Regions from separate parts of the Homo sapiens genome. Here regions 2 and 3 are each linked to region 1. Evidence: promoter capture Hi-C in human tissues and cell types (Jung and others, 2019). All regions are on one chromosome and are shown on one strand. The core of a region is centred on a gene start or on the middle of the fragment in contact, and the rest is flanking DNA. Distances in the headings are between cores, read along the strand shown. Region 1 holds the start of IFFO2 (intermediate filament family orphan 2). Region 2 overlaps UBR4 (ubiquitin protein ligase E3 component n-recognin 4). Region 3 overlaps UBR4 (ubiquitin protein ligase E3 component n-recognin 4).

The links. The method cuts DNA at HindIII sites, captures the fragments that hold promoters and counts their contacts. A contact is called where the count stands out against the background at its distance.
Region 2: a contact is called between a fragment that was not itself captured here and the fragment with the promoter of IFFO2 in region 1, in 1 of the 25 tissues and cell types used here (liver).
Region 3: a fragment that was not itself captured here is called in contact with the fragment with the promoter of IFFO2 in region 1 in 1 of the 25 tissues and cell types used here (lymphoblastoid cells).

Annotation. Positions count from the first base shown.
Region 1 is chr1:18,955,089-18,959,669 of GRCh38, reverse strand. IFFO2 (intermediate filament family orphan 2) reads left to right here and starts at 2,994. Exons shown (of 9, transcript NM_001136265.2): 1 at 2,994-4,002. The coding sequence starts at 3,338. RefSeq lists silencers at 2,812-2,981, 3,552-3,811, 4,052-4,241. The HindIII fragment of the contact is 10,098 bases long and covers 1-4,581 here.
Region 2 is chr1:19,150,303-19,155,248 of GRCh38, reverse strand. It overlaps UBR4 (ubiquitin protein ligase E3 component n-recognin 4), which reads left to right. Exons shown (of 106, transcript NM_020765.3): 44 at 174-331; 45 at 1,310-1,481; 46 at 1,747-1,948; 47 at 2,773-2,936; 48 at 3,390-3,606; 49 at 4,456-4,672. Among named protein-coding and RNA genes, the nearest start is that of UBR4, 57 kb to the left of the region's middle. The HindIII fragment of the contact is 5,835 bases long and covers 1-4,536 here.
Region 3 is chr1:19,170,940-19,175,450 of GRCh38, reverse strand. It overlaps UBR4 (ubiquitin protein ligase E3 component n-recognin 4), which reads left to right. Exons shown (of 106, transcript NM_020765.3): 21 at 418-497; 22 at 1,004-1,132; 23 at 1,830-2,012; 24 at 2,145-2,270; 25 at 2,358-2,587. Among named protein-coding and RNA genes, the nearest start is that of UBR4, 37 kb to the left of the region's middle. The HindIII fragment of the contact is 4,514 bases long and covers 1-4,490 here.

The sequences.
Region 1 (4,581 bases), core at 1,745-4,244:
GGTTAACCTAACCTCACATTTTACCCACAAAGAGCAAGACACGCAGCACCCGCCTTTATTCCTATGTGGCCACGAAGCTATTTTCAAGCCATTTTGTTTGCACATATCATGTTTCTAGGGTTCAGCTGAAAACCCTCTCAGGTCCAGCTACCACTTCCCTCAATTCCTTCAGATCTTCTGGGCTCTGCTTGGCCATCTCCTTTTCCCCCCTCTGCACCCACTCCCATGCCTCAGGATGGTCTTTTTTGGTTGTCTCCATCAGCTCCCCTGGAGCCCCTTTAGCTCCTTCCTCTGCATTTAATGCAGGATTTGTGCCGAAGCAGGTGCTCCACAAGTCATCACGGAAAGTCTGAATATCTCCAGGGCCCAGGGCAGGGCTGCCCCCACCCTCAAGGAGGGCTGCACACCCCAATTCCAGGGCAACTTTGTTGGAAGGACAGATCCTTCCTGGAAGAGGTTGCAGGGAGCCACTCCCCAGGTGTGACTTCTTAACCCTTTCTCTTCCATGGGACCACTCAGGCATTGGGTGGAGCCTGTGGACCCCTTCTGAGAATAATTTTTTTAAAAAGGCATTAGGATTACTATGAAAAGTCATTTTACTAAAAATAGATATCAAACTATTAACAATTTCTCATATAGTAACATACGTTCTCTTTTACTAATACATTAAATAAGATTTAGTGGTCGGTCTAATATGACTTTAATTTCACAGTTCTCGTAGCTTAGATGATATCTTGAGATGTTTACAATAACTGTAGTGTGTTACATAAATACCTGTGATTTCTACTAGTGACAAAATCACAGGGACATCTACTTGCTGCCTACATTCATAATCAAAGGATATGTTAAAAACCATTGGCTGGGCACGGTGGCTTACGTCTGTAATCCCAGAACTTCGGGAGGTCAAGGTGGGCGGATCACCTGAGGTTGGGGGTTCAAGACCAGCCTGACCAACATAGAGAAACCCCCATCTCTACTAAGAATACAAAAAAATTAGCCGGGTGTGGTGGCGCATGCCTGTAATCCCAGCTACTTGGGAGGCTGAGGCAGGATAATCTCTTGAACCCCGGAGGTGGAGGTTGTGATGAGCCAAGATCGCACCATTGCACTCTAGCCTGGGCAACAAGAGTGAAACTCTGTTTCAAACAAACAAATAAACAAACAGACAACAAAGCCTTTAGAGATTAGTGAGGCTAAAGGTATAACTTTTGTCCACCCCTGTGTCATGGACCCCCCAGAATTCTATCCTCAGTCCTCTTGGGGGTCCATGAACCTCTGCTTCAAGGCAAAGGGGTTTTGATTCCTTAGGTTAGATAAACAAGAACATCATCAAGAGACGAGAGAACGAAGAGTAAAGGGCAGTGTCCAGACTGGGTTGGGTTAAGCAGAGAAAGGTTTCTAGATGAGTGAGTTTCAGAGCTGGGTGTTTAAGGTGAGTCCGTGTTGGCAGGAAGCAAGGAACTGTGGTTGAGGGAAGGAACTATGGGGAAGGTTTGCTTTTGTGGCTAAATCAAAAACACAGCAGACTAACATCACAGCCACATCACTCCAGGGCAAGCCCGTGTCTCCTTTGTCACCAAGAACACCAAGGCATTGTCCATGTAAGACAGTGTGCCTGTCCTCAAGCTTACATACAAAGAGACAAAACAAACACAAAAGTTAATAACAAGACAAAAATTAAACTGCTAGTAAAAAATGCAGTCGGAAGTATCTGAAACATGCCACATATCTGGTTAAGTGCATACAATGCAAGCCACAGGCGTTCAAAGGTGGGGGTTCAAGGTGGGGGTCACCTCCCCTCTGAGGTTTGCGGTGAGGACCAAATGCGGAAATGGACACGAGGCCCGAGGCCAGCATTGTGGAAGGCCGGTTAGAGCATGCACTTTGGACCATTGTGGCTACTTAACGTCTCAGTGACCTTCTCTGTAAAATGGGGATAATAAATAAGTATGGCGCCTGACATATACTAATGTTTGCAACACGGTTCAGGAGACACCAGAGACTGGAGAACTTGGCCTTTAACGTGGTAGGTGTGAAAACATTTGAATGAATGAATGAATGAATGAATGGGTCCTCGGGTTGCCTCGGTCTGCCCCAGGCGGCCCGCTAAGCCCCATGTCTGTGAAATGAATCCCCAGCTCTCGGGGTCAGCTTCATCTCAGCGTGTGGGTGTGGGTGGTGGGGAGGTGCTGAGCAGCTCAGCAGAGGCGAGGCCCAGGCCGAGTTTGTGGGTGTCATCCCGGGAGGGTCTTGCTCGGCCTCCCCAACCCCCATGCTGCTCGGCTCCTCAGTGGGCGGGGGAACCAGCGGGCTTAGCTGTGCCCGGGCCGATCTCGAGAGGACAAGGCCCGCAGCTAGCATTCGAGGAGCCCACCCCCGGGTCCGCAGCGTGGGGCACGGGCGCCCTCTTATCCCCGAAAGGTCGATCTGGGCCTCCCCAGGCTAGAGTGGGGGTGGGGTGCCGATGCACCTTCGGATACTGTGGTCCCCCAGCCCTTCCAGCCGCGGTCGCGCACATCCGAAGGAATTTGGGGCCAGGGGCATTGCGGGCAGAGAGGACAGAGAAACGGAGCCCTCTCGGCAGGCGACGTGGGAGAGGAGCGCCCTAAAAAGTGGAAAGCGAGCGTTGCCGAGGCTGCTGGCCCCTTTAAGAGGCCCGGCTGGCTCTGCGGCGGTTCCAGCTAACCCGGTCCCTGGTGCAGCTCTGCGGTCCGGGTCCCCCAGCAGAGAATCGGCACCCGGCGGGGAGGCAGGACCAGACGCAGGAGAGGGCGTGGCCCCGCCGGGGAGCTGGGCGGAGTCTATGCTGCGGAGAAAGCGGGAGAACCCGGAGGTGGGCGGAGCCGAGGGTCTGTGGGTGGGGCCCGGCGCTGCGGGCCTCGTGGGGCGGAGCCTCGGGCTCGGGGAACGCCGCAGAGGGAGGAGGGGTGGGCGGGGCCGCGGCGGGGGCGGGGCCAGTGTCTGCAGTGGGCGGGGCCCGCCGCAGAAGGGGCAGTGCCGGCCGAGAGTCCTCTGCGTGCGGCTGCCGCGGCCCCTCCACAGCGTCTCTGACAGCCCGGGCGGTGAGACCCGCGACCCTTCTGGCCCCGCGCAGATACCGCGGCCTCCACCGCGTCCCGAGGAGCGGCCGAGTGCCCTCTCTCGCCTCGGCGCCCGCATCCGGGGCCATCCGTCCTGCCGTCTCTGCGGAGGCCGCATCTGGCGCGCATCTGGAACCGCCCGGCCGGCCGCGCTGGAGCCCGCGCCCACCCTGGCCCGGCCGCGCCGGGAGCCCTGCCCGGAGCTGGAGCCGCACCTGGAGCCGCGGGCCCGGGGCCCTGAGCCGCGCAGCCGGCGCATGGTGAACTCGCTGCTGTTCGGGGAGATGGCCTTGGCCTTCGGCTGCCCGCCGGGCGGCGGCGGCGGGGGCTGCCCTGGCGGGGGCGGCGGCGGCGGCGGGGCAGGGCCGGGTCCGTCGCCGGTGACGGCGGCGCTGCGGGACGACCTGGGCTCCAACATCCACCTCTTGAAGGGGCTCAACGTGCGCTTCCGCTGCTTCCTGGCTAAGGTGCACGAGCTGGAGCGGCGCAACCGGCTGCTGGAGAAGCAGCTGGAGCAGCAGCAGAGCGAGCGCGAGCGGCGGCTGCGCTACAAGACCTTCTCCCGCGAGCAGGCCGTGCAGACCGGGCCCGAGTTGCTGCGGCCCCCGGCGCCCGGCGGCGGGCACGGCCTCAGCAGTGGCGCGGCGGCCGGCGCCAACGCCAATGCCGTGGCCCTGGGCGGCCTGCCCCCCGGCGGCGGCTCGCACCCGCAGCACTACGGCCGCCTGCCCGGGACCATCTGGAGCTACACGCAGGTGCGGCGCACGGGCGGCGGCGGCGTGGAGACCGTGCAGGGCCCCGGCGTGTCGTGGGTGCACCCCGACGGCGTGGGCGTGCAGATCGACACCATCACGCCGGAGATCCGCGCGCTCTACAACGTGCTGGCCAAGGTGAAGCGCGAGCGCGACGAGTATAAGCGGAGGTGAGTGGCCGCCCCTCCCCCGCCGCCCTGGGACGGGGCGCCCAGGTCCAGGCTGCCGCGGAATGCGTATGCGGGACGGGGGCCGGGCGGGCAGCTGGTACTGGCAGGTGGGCTGGAAGCTGTGTTTGCAGAGCGTCTTACGTACGCCAGGAAGGCCCAGTTATCTAGATCCCAGGATGGGGGCGGGCGCTGGCTACCGTGGGGGCCACCTCGATGCTGTCACTGGTGAGGCACATTGTTTTCTAGGTGACATAATAACTGTCTGTGTTTTATGCGATCTCATTTAATTCTCAGCACAATACAGCGTATTGTGTAAGGCAGTCTTATCCTCATCTCGCAGATGAGGAAACCGAGGTGCAGAAATGCTAAGTGATTTGCCTAAGGTGGCTTGGCGAGTAAGTGGTGAAACCGGGATTTCAACCAGAGATTTTAACCACTCCTGGCTAGTCTGTCTCCTAGCATAAGTATTTTTACCAAGGAAGTAGGAAATATGCTCCCCTCCCTCAACATATGAAAAGAAAAACTCTAACCAACCCACTGCCTTTTTATTTCTTGAATTAAATGAGATCACGTTTTTGA
Region 2 (4,946 bases), core at 370-2,869, 200 kb before region 1:
ATTCAACTTCAAGTTCCATTTTTCTCAGGGTCTTTGTAAGATTTACCCACAGGGATCTCATGCTTAGAGTATGAGAGCACCTGATCATGATTGAAAATAATAACCAGTATAAACCGGAAGTTGGTAGCCAAGGCAACATGAATTACTGCAAATATGTGTCTTTGTGCCAGCAGGACAGTAACAGCCAGGTGGCGGGCGGTGGTGTGTCCGTGTACTACTCCCACGTGTTGCAGATGTTGTTCTTCAGCTATTGTCAAGGCAAATCATTCGCAGCCACCATCAGCAGGACAACCCTGGAGGTGTTGCAACTCTTCCCCATCAACATCAAAAGGTGGGAATGAACATTTAATGTTCAACTTCCGCAATGTCCACATTCAATGTGGGATCTCCACTCCCACTATCTGCTATCTGTTCTGAGTTTTGTGAAACTTAATTTTCTCCAGCCAACCTTTTTTTCTCCCCTGCTAGGTATCTTTAAAATCAAGGAACATCCGGGTTTGGCAGGTTGGGTTGTCTGCACGGTTTGTCCTCCACTGTGGAGACCCCAAGCTGTCAGAGGTAGTTTAGGGGTCCACTGTTACTCAGAAGGAAAACCTATAGTTAATGTTATAAATGTGATTTTAATGTGAGAAGGGAACCTAAATTTCTCTTAGACACTCATTCTGCCATAATGCCCTTTAAGTTTTTCTCCTGGGGAGACTTACTCTGTTAGCAAATAGAACGTATCAGTAATGGGGGCATGGTTGGATATGGGGGAGGAAGAGACTTTCAACAAGTTTGCAAATAATAGAGGGGTGTGTAAGGTAGTGAGAGTTTCATTTAGGGAGGAGGAAGAAGAGGCTTATGGTGTCTTCCCTTGTTTCTTATCTGCCATTGATGACCCATTGTAGCACTTTCTCTCAGACCTTTCTTTGGGAATTACATGGTTTGGGATGAAATAAAATGGATACCAGTTCACACTAACTCGATGTGTTTGGAGATCCTGATAGGACAATGGGTCATTAGCCTTAGGCAGCTCCATGGCCCTCTGCAGTTGATAGCCTCTAGGCACATAGGGCCACCTGTTCTTCGGACATGGAACCTCACAGTGGAGACTCCAAATGAGGACTGCCCTGCCATAAGCACGCATTGGGGTGTATGAGCATGTGTGCATGGCTTGGAATAAAACTAACCTGTGGATAATCTGAGTCCCTGGCCAAGGATATTGCTTTGGAGTCACGTAGCCAGTTAGAGGATGGTTTTTAGGTCAAGAAAAGAACTATTAAATGGTGACTGACACTCTAACTGTGGCCAGTTTTGTTGTCTGCAGTTCCAATGGTGGCAGTAAGACTTCTCCTGCTCTTTGCCAGTGGTCTGAGGTGATGAACCACCCTGGCTTGGTGTGCTGTGTCCAGCAAACTACAGGGGTGCCGCTGGTAGTTATGGTGAAACCAGACACTTTTCTTATCCAGGAGATTAAGACTCTTCCTGCTAAAGCGAAGGTCAGTGCCAGATTTTCCCATTCATTACTTTGCTGTGAACCTGGTCTCTTTTTATGTTTGTATATTCATTTCACTTTCCCAGCTCTTTCAATGGAGGCCCATAAAAGATTTTCAGTCCTTTTTCTTCTAGATGCCTTTTCTTTGCCACCCTTCTGTACAGCCCCTCAACTGACCATGAAACCAGTTGCATCTCTGCCTCTTTTTCTGTGAGGATGCTGATCTGTGGGTGTGGGAACGAAGACCCTCCTTTGTCCTCTCCTCCTAGATCCAAGACATGGTTGCTATTAGGCACACGGCCTGCAATGAGCAGCAGCGGACAACAATGATTCTGCTGTGTGAGGATGGCAGCCTGCGCATTTACATGGCCAACGTGGAGAACACCTCCTACTGGCTGCAGCCATCCCTGCAGCCCAGCAGTGTCATCAGCATCATGAAGCCTGTTCGAAAGCGCAAAACAGCTACAATCAGTAAGGCTCCTTCTCAGATGACTTGTGGGGGAGTAGGAATGGTGGTCTTCTAGACAGTGACTCAGAATAGACTGTTGAAAATATCTGTGAAGAAATGTGACTGTCCTACTTGCACATTTTGTAAAGTTAATTTCCCAAAAGCAGAGTTATGTTTCCAAATGTCAAGCACCCATTGGCTGCCTGTTTCAGGCCAGCAGTTCTTTGGTGCCTAGTAACGAGTTATGTCCTGGACCTTATTTGAGAGATTGTTCTCTCTAGGTTTAGGAGAATGACTTCCCTGAAGAACTGATTGAAGTATAGACCTCTTCAGCTGGTTAATTTCCCACTGAGTAGTGAAGAGCCCACCACAGGTCTCTGAGCTGGTGGTCTAGCACTTGACTGACTCAGGACTCTTCAGGAAAGTGAAAGCTTGAGTTTAGCAGTGAGCAAATCCAGCTAAGCAAAGACCATTACAGGGATCATCACATTACCTTAAATTTGCTCTACAGTCTATTTTGAAAGAATGGTTTATTCATTTACATTCATTAAAGAAGTAGCTCCTATTGTTTATTTTAAATAACCCAGTTACAGGAGAGCCTATTGTTATTAGCTGTACACCCAATACCAATGCCAGATTTCTTGGTATTGCTAGGACATGTCATAGTTAGGGATAACAACCATTGGAGAGCTAACCACATGTAGGCATCATGCCGATGCAAATGTTATAATCCAGAGTTTGCTTAGATTAGAGTGTGAGTGTGGGCTCTGTCTGGGAGGAGTCTTTACCAGTGGTGTTGGGGCAGAGGTGGGAGAGACTCTTGACGATCTGGTACCGTTCTCTGCAGCAACCCGCACGTCTAGCCAGGTGACTTTCCCCATTGACTTTTTTGAACACAACCAGCAGCTGACAGATGTGGAGTTTGGTGGTAACGACCTCCTACAGGTCTATAATGCACAACAGATAAAACACCGGCTGAATTCCACTGGCATGTATGTGGCCAACACCAAGGTAAGAATGGCACTGGGCTGGGATCAATCCCTGGGTAGAAGGACTCAAACAATATGGTTTGAGAACACATCTCCTTTTAGAAAGCAAGTATAGAGTATATACTCACAGTCACAACCCTCGGTTCTAGTTAAATGGTTCCTTAGAAAAATGGATATTCTTACTCACTTGGCAAAGGACTTGTACAGGTTGGGTTTCCACCAATACCAGCAGGATTACTGTGTAGAGGACATCAAAGAGGTGGTTAATACTGGGGAGAAGGAAGCCTGACATTGAAGAGAATCTGCTCTCTTTTCCTATTTTCCCATTTTTAGAAACAAGGAAGTCATTACCAGGGAGTTAAAAGGATAAGTTTTAATGAGCTTCACATGTTGAGACAATGTCAGAGAAGAAGGAGTCCTAGTTAAAACTTAAGAACTTCTGTAGTTTCTTGATGTGTGCCTTGTCTCCCTACAGCCCGGAGGCTTCACCATTGAGATTAGTAACAACAATAGCACTATGGTGATGACAGGCATGCGGATCCAGATTGGGACTCAAGCAATAGAACGGGCCCCGTCATATATCGAGATCTTCGGCAGAACTATGCAGCTCAACCTGAGTCGCTCACGCTGGTTTGACTTCCCCTTCACCAGAGAAGAAGCCCTGCAGGCTGATAAGAAGCTGAACCTCTTCAGTGAGTCACCAACCCCTGGTGCAGACTCTGTCCTCATTGTGACTGCGAAATTGGGAGCCACTGGCCTGTGGCTGTCCAACATTCTGGGATCTCTCCACTCTGCTGATTTTTCTGTCCTTTCATCAGGAAACTTTGAGCTTCATTTGATGTATTAAAGAGGCAAGGTGACAGGAAAGGAGTACACCGGAGCATGGTAGCAGTAAAGATAGGGCTGCACTGTGTTGAGTATTCATTTCAATAGTGTTGTGTCCACCTCACTAATGGGGCTACTTCTGTGTTTAGGCCGAGAGGAGGCAGATTGACATGAAATTGCAAGGCTTTCTTAACGCACAGAGGAAGACCTCAGGTCACACATGGCTGAGAGATGGTTGGCAATGGCTTGCTATGCCACTGAAAACTAAACTCTCAGAATACAAATCCTTGAGCCTTACTCAAGACTGCATTTCTCTGTCATTTATTGGCCACTGTCTGATATTCTTTCTTCTAGATATAGTTGCTGTTAGTGTGAATGATCATGATCTGTACTTTGAACAAAGAAAGTGTGTAGAGACCCCTGGGAGTGAGGGGTAGGGGATACAATACTCTGAAGCAGAAGAGGACCCTTGCAGTGATGGTTAGGGACTCTTCTGAGTAGGAGACGTAATCGGCTTTTGGTCCATGGAACTTTTACCACATGTATTCAGCATATATACACGATTAAAGTGCTGCAAATATCTCAGAAGATAAAGTTTCTCTATGTCTATAAAATTGACGTGATTTACTTCTTTGCTCCAACTGTTCTGGTCTTTGCTTTGGAGGGGTGGCTTTTTAGAGAATGTGCTTCCTAAAGGCCTCTCTTGCTTATTGCAGTTGGGGCCTCGGTGGATCCAGCAGGTGTCACCATGATAGATGCTGTAAAAATTTATGGCAAGACTAAGGAGCAGTTTGGCTGGCCTGATGAGCCCCCAGAAGAATTCCCTTCTGCCTCTGTCAGCAACATCTGCCCTTCAAATCTGAACCAGAGCAACGGCACTGGAGATAGCGACTCAGCTGCCCCCACTACGACCAGTGGAACTGTCCTGGAGAGGTACCAGTGCTGGCAGGGGTTGGCTTCAGTTTTTACATATTCCACTCACTGCAGAACCTTCCTGTGTCTTGAGAGAGCCAGCTTCTAATAACCATCTCAAGGCTAGCCTGGAATTTTTTTAAGTTTTCATACAACTCGCCCACATTCAGTGTCTCTTTAGCGTGCAAAGCCTGAAAAATGTGCTCAGAGTCATCTGACACCAGAGTCTCTCCCTGGACAGAAGTTCTGTCCCTTCTCTTAATAATGCTCAGGTACCCTTTAGAGTAGCCAGAGG
Region 3 (4,511 bases), core at 984-3,483, 220 kb before region 1:
TGTTATCTTTTACTATTTGATGTTAGGGAAACAGCATGTAAGTTTAATGTGTGCAGACTAATGATATAATTTGTTGATTGATTTGATTCTAGGGCACCCTACTTAACTCTTAGAGCAATGGTTCTCAATGGGTGATTTTGCCCTCTCCCCTCCAGGACATTTGGCAATGTCTAGATATTTTTGGTTGTCACAACTGGGGGTGCTACTGGCATTCAGGGGGTAGAGGCCAGGGCTGCTGTTAAGTCACCTAGAGTGCATAAGATGGCCTCCCACAGCAAACACTTATCTGGCTCCAGATGTCAATATTGTTAAGGTTGGGAAACCTTATTATAAAGTATTTTCTGAGTTTTACATTGCATACTAGTCAGATAGAGTTAAGAATGGAACCATTCTTTTAATCAGCATATTACTTTTCAGATGCTGTCCCACACCCCAGATTCTACTGTGTCCTGTCCCCAGAAGCCTCAGAGGATGATTTGAACCGACTTGATTCTGTGGTACTAGGAATTTTAAAACTGCATTTTATATGTGGGTCAGATGGTTTCCACCAGAATCAGCCTACTGGGGGGAAAGGGAATGACTGACTTTTTATAGTGAGGAAATGTGGTCTGTGTTACGATTTGAGCTTATTCTAATAGGAAAATGTTACTTGGATATTTATTTGTTGGGTGCACTTTTGCTGTGGGGTTTGTCCTTTCTGGATTGGCACCTCTGACACTTGATTTTTGAAGACAGTCTTTGTTAGCATTTTTCACATGCAAGTATTTTAATGGACAAAAATAATTGTCTTACTCCCTTATTCTAAAGCCAGCAGCTGTGTGCTCACAATAGCTTGCAAACAGTGTGAGTAATGTCCCAGAATGGGAATCTGTTCCAAGGAGAAATTAATGATTATGATTTGATGGGATATTTTGTCAATCATGAGGATAAGTGATAGTGTATAGGCAGTAGGAAAAAATACTTTAAAAGTAAGGAAATGACTCTCTTTCTTTCTTGATGTCAGGCATGTGACGTCCTTTTCTCCAAGCTTGTCAAGTATGATGAGCTTTATGCTGCACTGACAGCCCTGCTTGCAGCTGGGTCCCAGCTTGATACAGTTAGGAGAAAGGAAAACAAGAATGTAACAGCCTTGGTAAGACCATGGAACCCTGAGAAGTCTTTGGGTTGTGTTTGATCATTGATCATTTCTATCAGAAATTTCCTTCTGAAATGTAACCAGTTTATTGAATATTGATTTGCAAAACTGACTGATACTTGAGTATTTCTAGGTAGTTTGTGTAGCTATGTTCACCTTAAAGATAATTTAATCAGCTGTTGCATTTTTTTGGTTACCATTGAGAGAACTGTAATTTAAGAGTTAGTGGTCCCCCCCCAAGTGCTATATCTCCTGTCAATACTGGTTGATGTGTGATATTGAAAGCCTCACGCTTGAGATTTTTCCATGGCTCTGTTAATGTGTCTCTATATTCTAGAAGCAATTCCAGGCCACAAAAACGGATAGCTGATTGCAGGTCTGCTAAGCAGAATGTCCTGCCCTCTTTTGGTTAATTGGTAAATTATTGGGGAGCCAAAGTTGTCTTGGAATAGCCTTTTTGGTCTGTGAAATGTGCAGAATACGGAACAAATTATTTGTATGTGTGTTCTGCCATTTTCTGCTAGGTGCACTCTCTAGAAAGATCTGGAGAATGGACTTGGGGGCCAAATCTCAATTTAAAATCAGGACTCTATACAGTTCTGGTTTAAAAGTTGTATTTGGAGTAGTTCGTACTGTGAGGGAGATCTTGAGGCCATACCAAGTGCTACCTCTATGCTGCTTTTCCTTTCTCCAGGAGGCCTGTGCCCTTCAATATTACTTCTTGATACTGTGGAGGATCCTAGGAATTTTACCACCATCAAAGACTTACATTAACCAGCTATCCATGAACTCACCTGAGATGAGCGAATGTGACATCTTGCACACTCTGCGATGGTCTTCTCGGCTCCGGATCAGCTCCTATGTCAACTGGATAAAGGTAACACAGAGCTTGCTGCTAAGACTATTCAAAGCCAAAGTGCTTTGTGCTTACTGGAGCTTTTAAATTTGAAGATAATGAAAGCTTTGCCTATAGTCATCTCCTAAACACTTTTTCTTGCTGTCCAAATAGGATCACCTTATCAAACAGGGAATGAAGGCTGAGCATGCTAGCTCGCTTCTAGAACTGGCATCCACCACTAAGTGTAGCTCAGTGAAATATGATGTTGAAATAGTAGAGGAATACTTCGCTCGACAGGTATGTAATATTGGAACCTAAATGATAGAACTTGGTTTCTACCATAGCCCATTGCCACAGCTAATTATATTTTGCATATTTTTAAAGATCTCATCCTTCTGTAGTATCGACTGTACCACCATCTTGCAGCTGCATGAAATTCCCAGTCTGCAGTCCATCTACACCCTTGATGCCGCGATCTCAAAGGTCCAGGTCTCTTTGGATGAGCATTTTTCTAAGATGGCTGCTGAGACTGATCCTCATAAGTCGTCTGAGATTACCAAGAACCTACTTCCAGCCACGCTGCAACTCATTGACACCTATGCATCGTTCACCAGGTGTGGCGAACTGCCTGCCCAGAGATGCACATGCACTCTTCACTCCGTGCAGATCCCGCATTGACTCAGAATTTGACATTTTTCTCTTTCTTCAGCTTAGGGGTTTTTTTCCCCACGTATAATGCTTTCTTCTCTAGTATGAAGGGGTGCTTGATGAGGAAATTTTCAAATAGTGCAGGAGGAGTCAGGAGGAAGTTTAATGTCTATAATTCTTTAAATATTTTGTACGATTTTACTCGTAGGATACAGAGAAAGGTAATTTTTCAAAACACTGTCATTTCTGTTATTAACTGAGTTAAAGCTCCTTAAATGCTCTTTATTTATTATTATTAAAAAAATTTTTTTCTGAGATGGCATCTCGCTCTGTCGCCCAGGCTGGAGTGCAATGGTGCGATCTTGGCTCACTGCAACCTCCACCCCCTGGGTTCAAGTGATTCTCCTGCCTCAGCCTCCTGAGTAGCTGGGATTACAGGCATGCACCACCGTGCCTGGCTAATTTTTGTGTTTTTAGTAGAGACGGGGTTTCGCCATGTTGGCCAGGCTGGTCTTGAATTCCTAACCTCAGGTGATCTACCCACCTCAGCCTCCCAAAGTGCTGGGATTACAGGCATGAGCCACTGTGCCTGGCCCTTAAATGCTCTTTACATGTGATGATATGTAGTTGGAGAAAAAAAAAAATCTCTAAATGAGTTAGAAATTATTTGAAATTCAACTCTTTCTATAACAAACACTGCAAATTGCATGCCCTGTAGACTTTGGTCTGTATGATGTTTAAATATTTAAAGTTAATTTCAGTATATAAAATTGGGAGATTATTCACAAGTTTAGATTTCTGGCTTTTCTTAAATTGGAAGAACTGGCAAAACTGGGCCTGACTTCCCAAACAACAGTAACAGACTGGAGCTGAGAATTAGTTCCCTTTGCAGCAGTTTTCACCGGGCTCTCTTAAGCTTATTGACTTTATCTGGTCCCTGTAGGATCTCAGTGTTCACTCCTGTTCTATGGTGCTTTTTTGTTTTGAGATGGAATCTCACTGTGTCACCCAGGCCGGAGTGCAGTGGTGCGATCTCATCTCACTGTAACCTCCACCTCCTGGGTTCAAGTGATTCTCCTCAGTTTCCCGAGTGGCAGGGATGACAGGTGCATACCACCATGCCTGGCTAATTTTTGTATTTTTGTATTTTCAGTAGAAATGGGGTTTCTCCATGTTGGCCAGGCTGGTCTTGAACTCCCGACCTCAGGTGATCCACCTGCCTCAGCCTCCCAAAGTGCTGGGATTACAGGTGTGAGCCACCGTGCCCAGCTCTGTGGGCTTTATGCTGCTTTAAAGGGACCTAGATCTTTGTCAGACTTAACTAACCTTGTCTCTTAGTATGACTGCCTTGCAGAAGATAGAGGGCTGTTGTTTGAGGCAAATTTTTTTTTTGGCTCAAATTTGTTTGAGCCAAACAAATATGTATGGCTGCTACGTGCCAGGTACTTTTCTAGGTGCTAGGGTTATGGCAGTAGCCAAAGCAGACCAAGTCATTGCCCTCTGGGAATTTACAGACTCTAATCTGGCCTAATAGGCCAGTACTTTCCACACTGAGCTGTTAACGTTCCTGGTCAAGTAAGTTTGCAAAATGTTGGATAAACAGTTTTTTTTGTTTTGTTTTGTTTTAAAAAATATAGTATTCAGAGCCTTTACTGTATACATTGTCAATCTTCTGAGGTGGGGAAGGAGGATAGATATAGTATTCACTGTTTCTCAGGCTTACTTGTCAGGCAGTCATGTTTTGGGAGCATTTCAGAGGAGGGGACATTCTTTGGGAAATGATTACCCATTGGAATTCTTAGAGACCAGGAAGGGGCAGGCACTATCAACTACATTAAATAGATAGGAAACTGAGATATAGGGTTTTCAGCCAGTCTAGGGCCAGTTTTT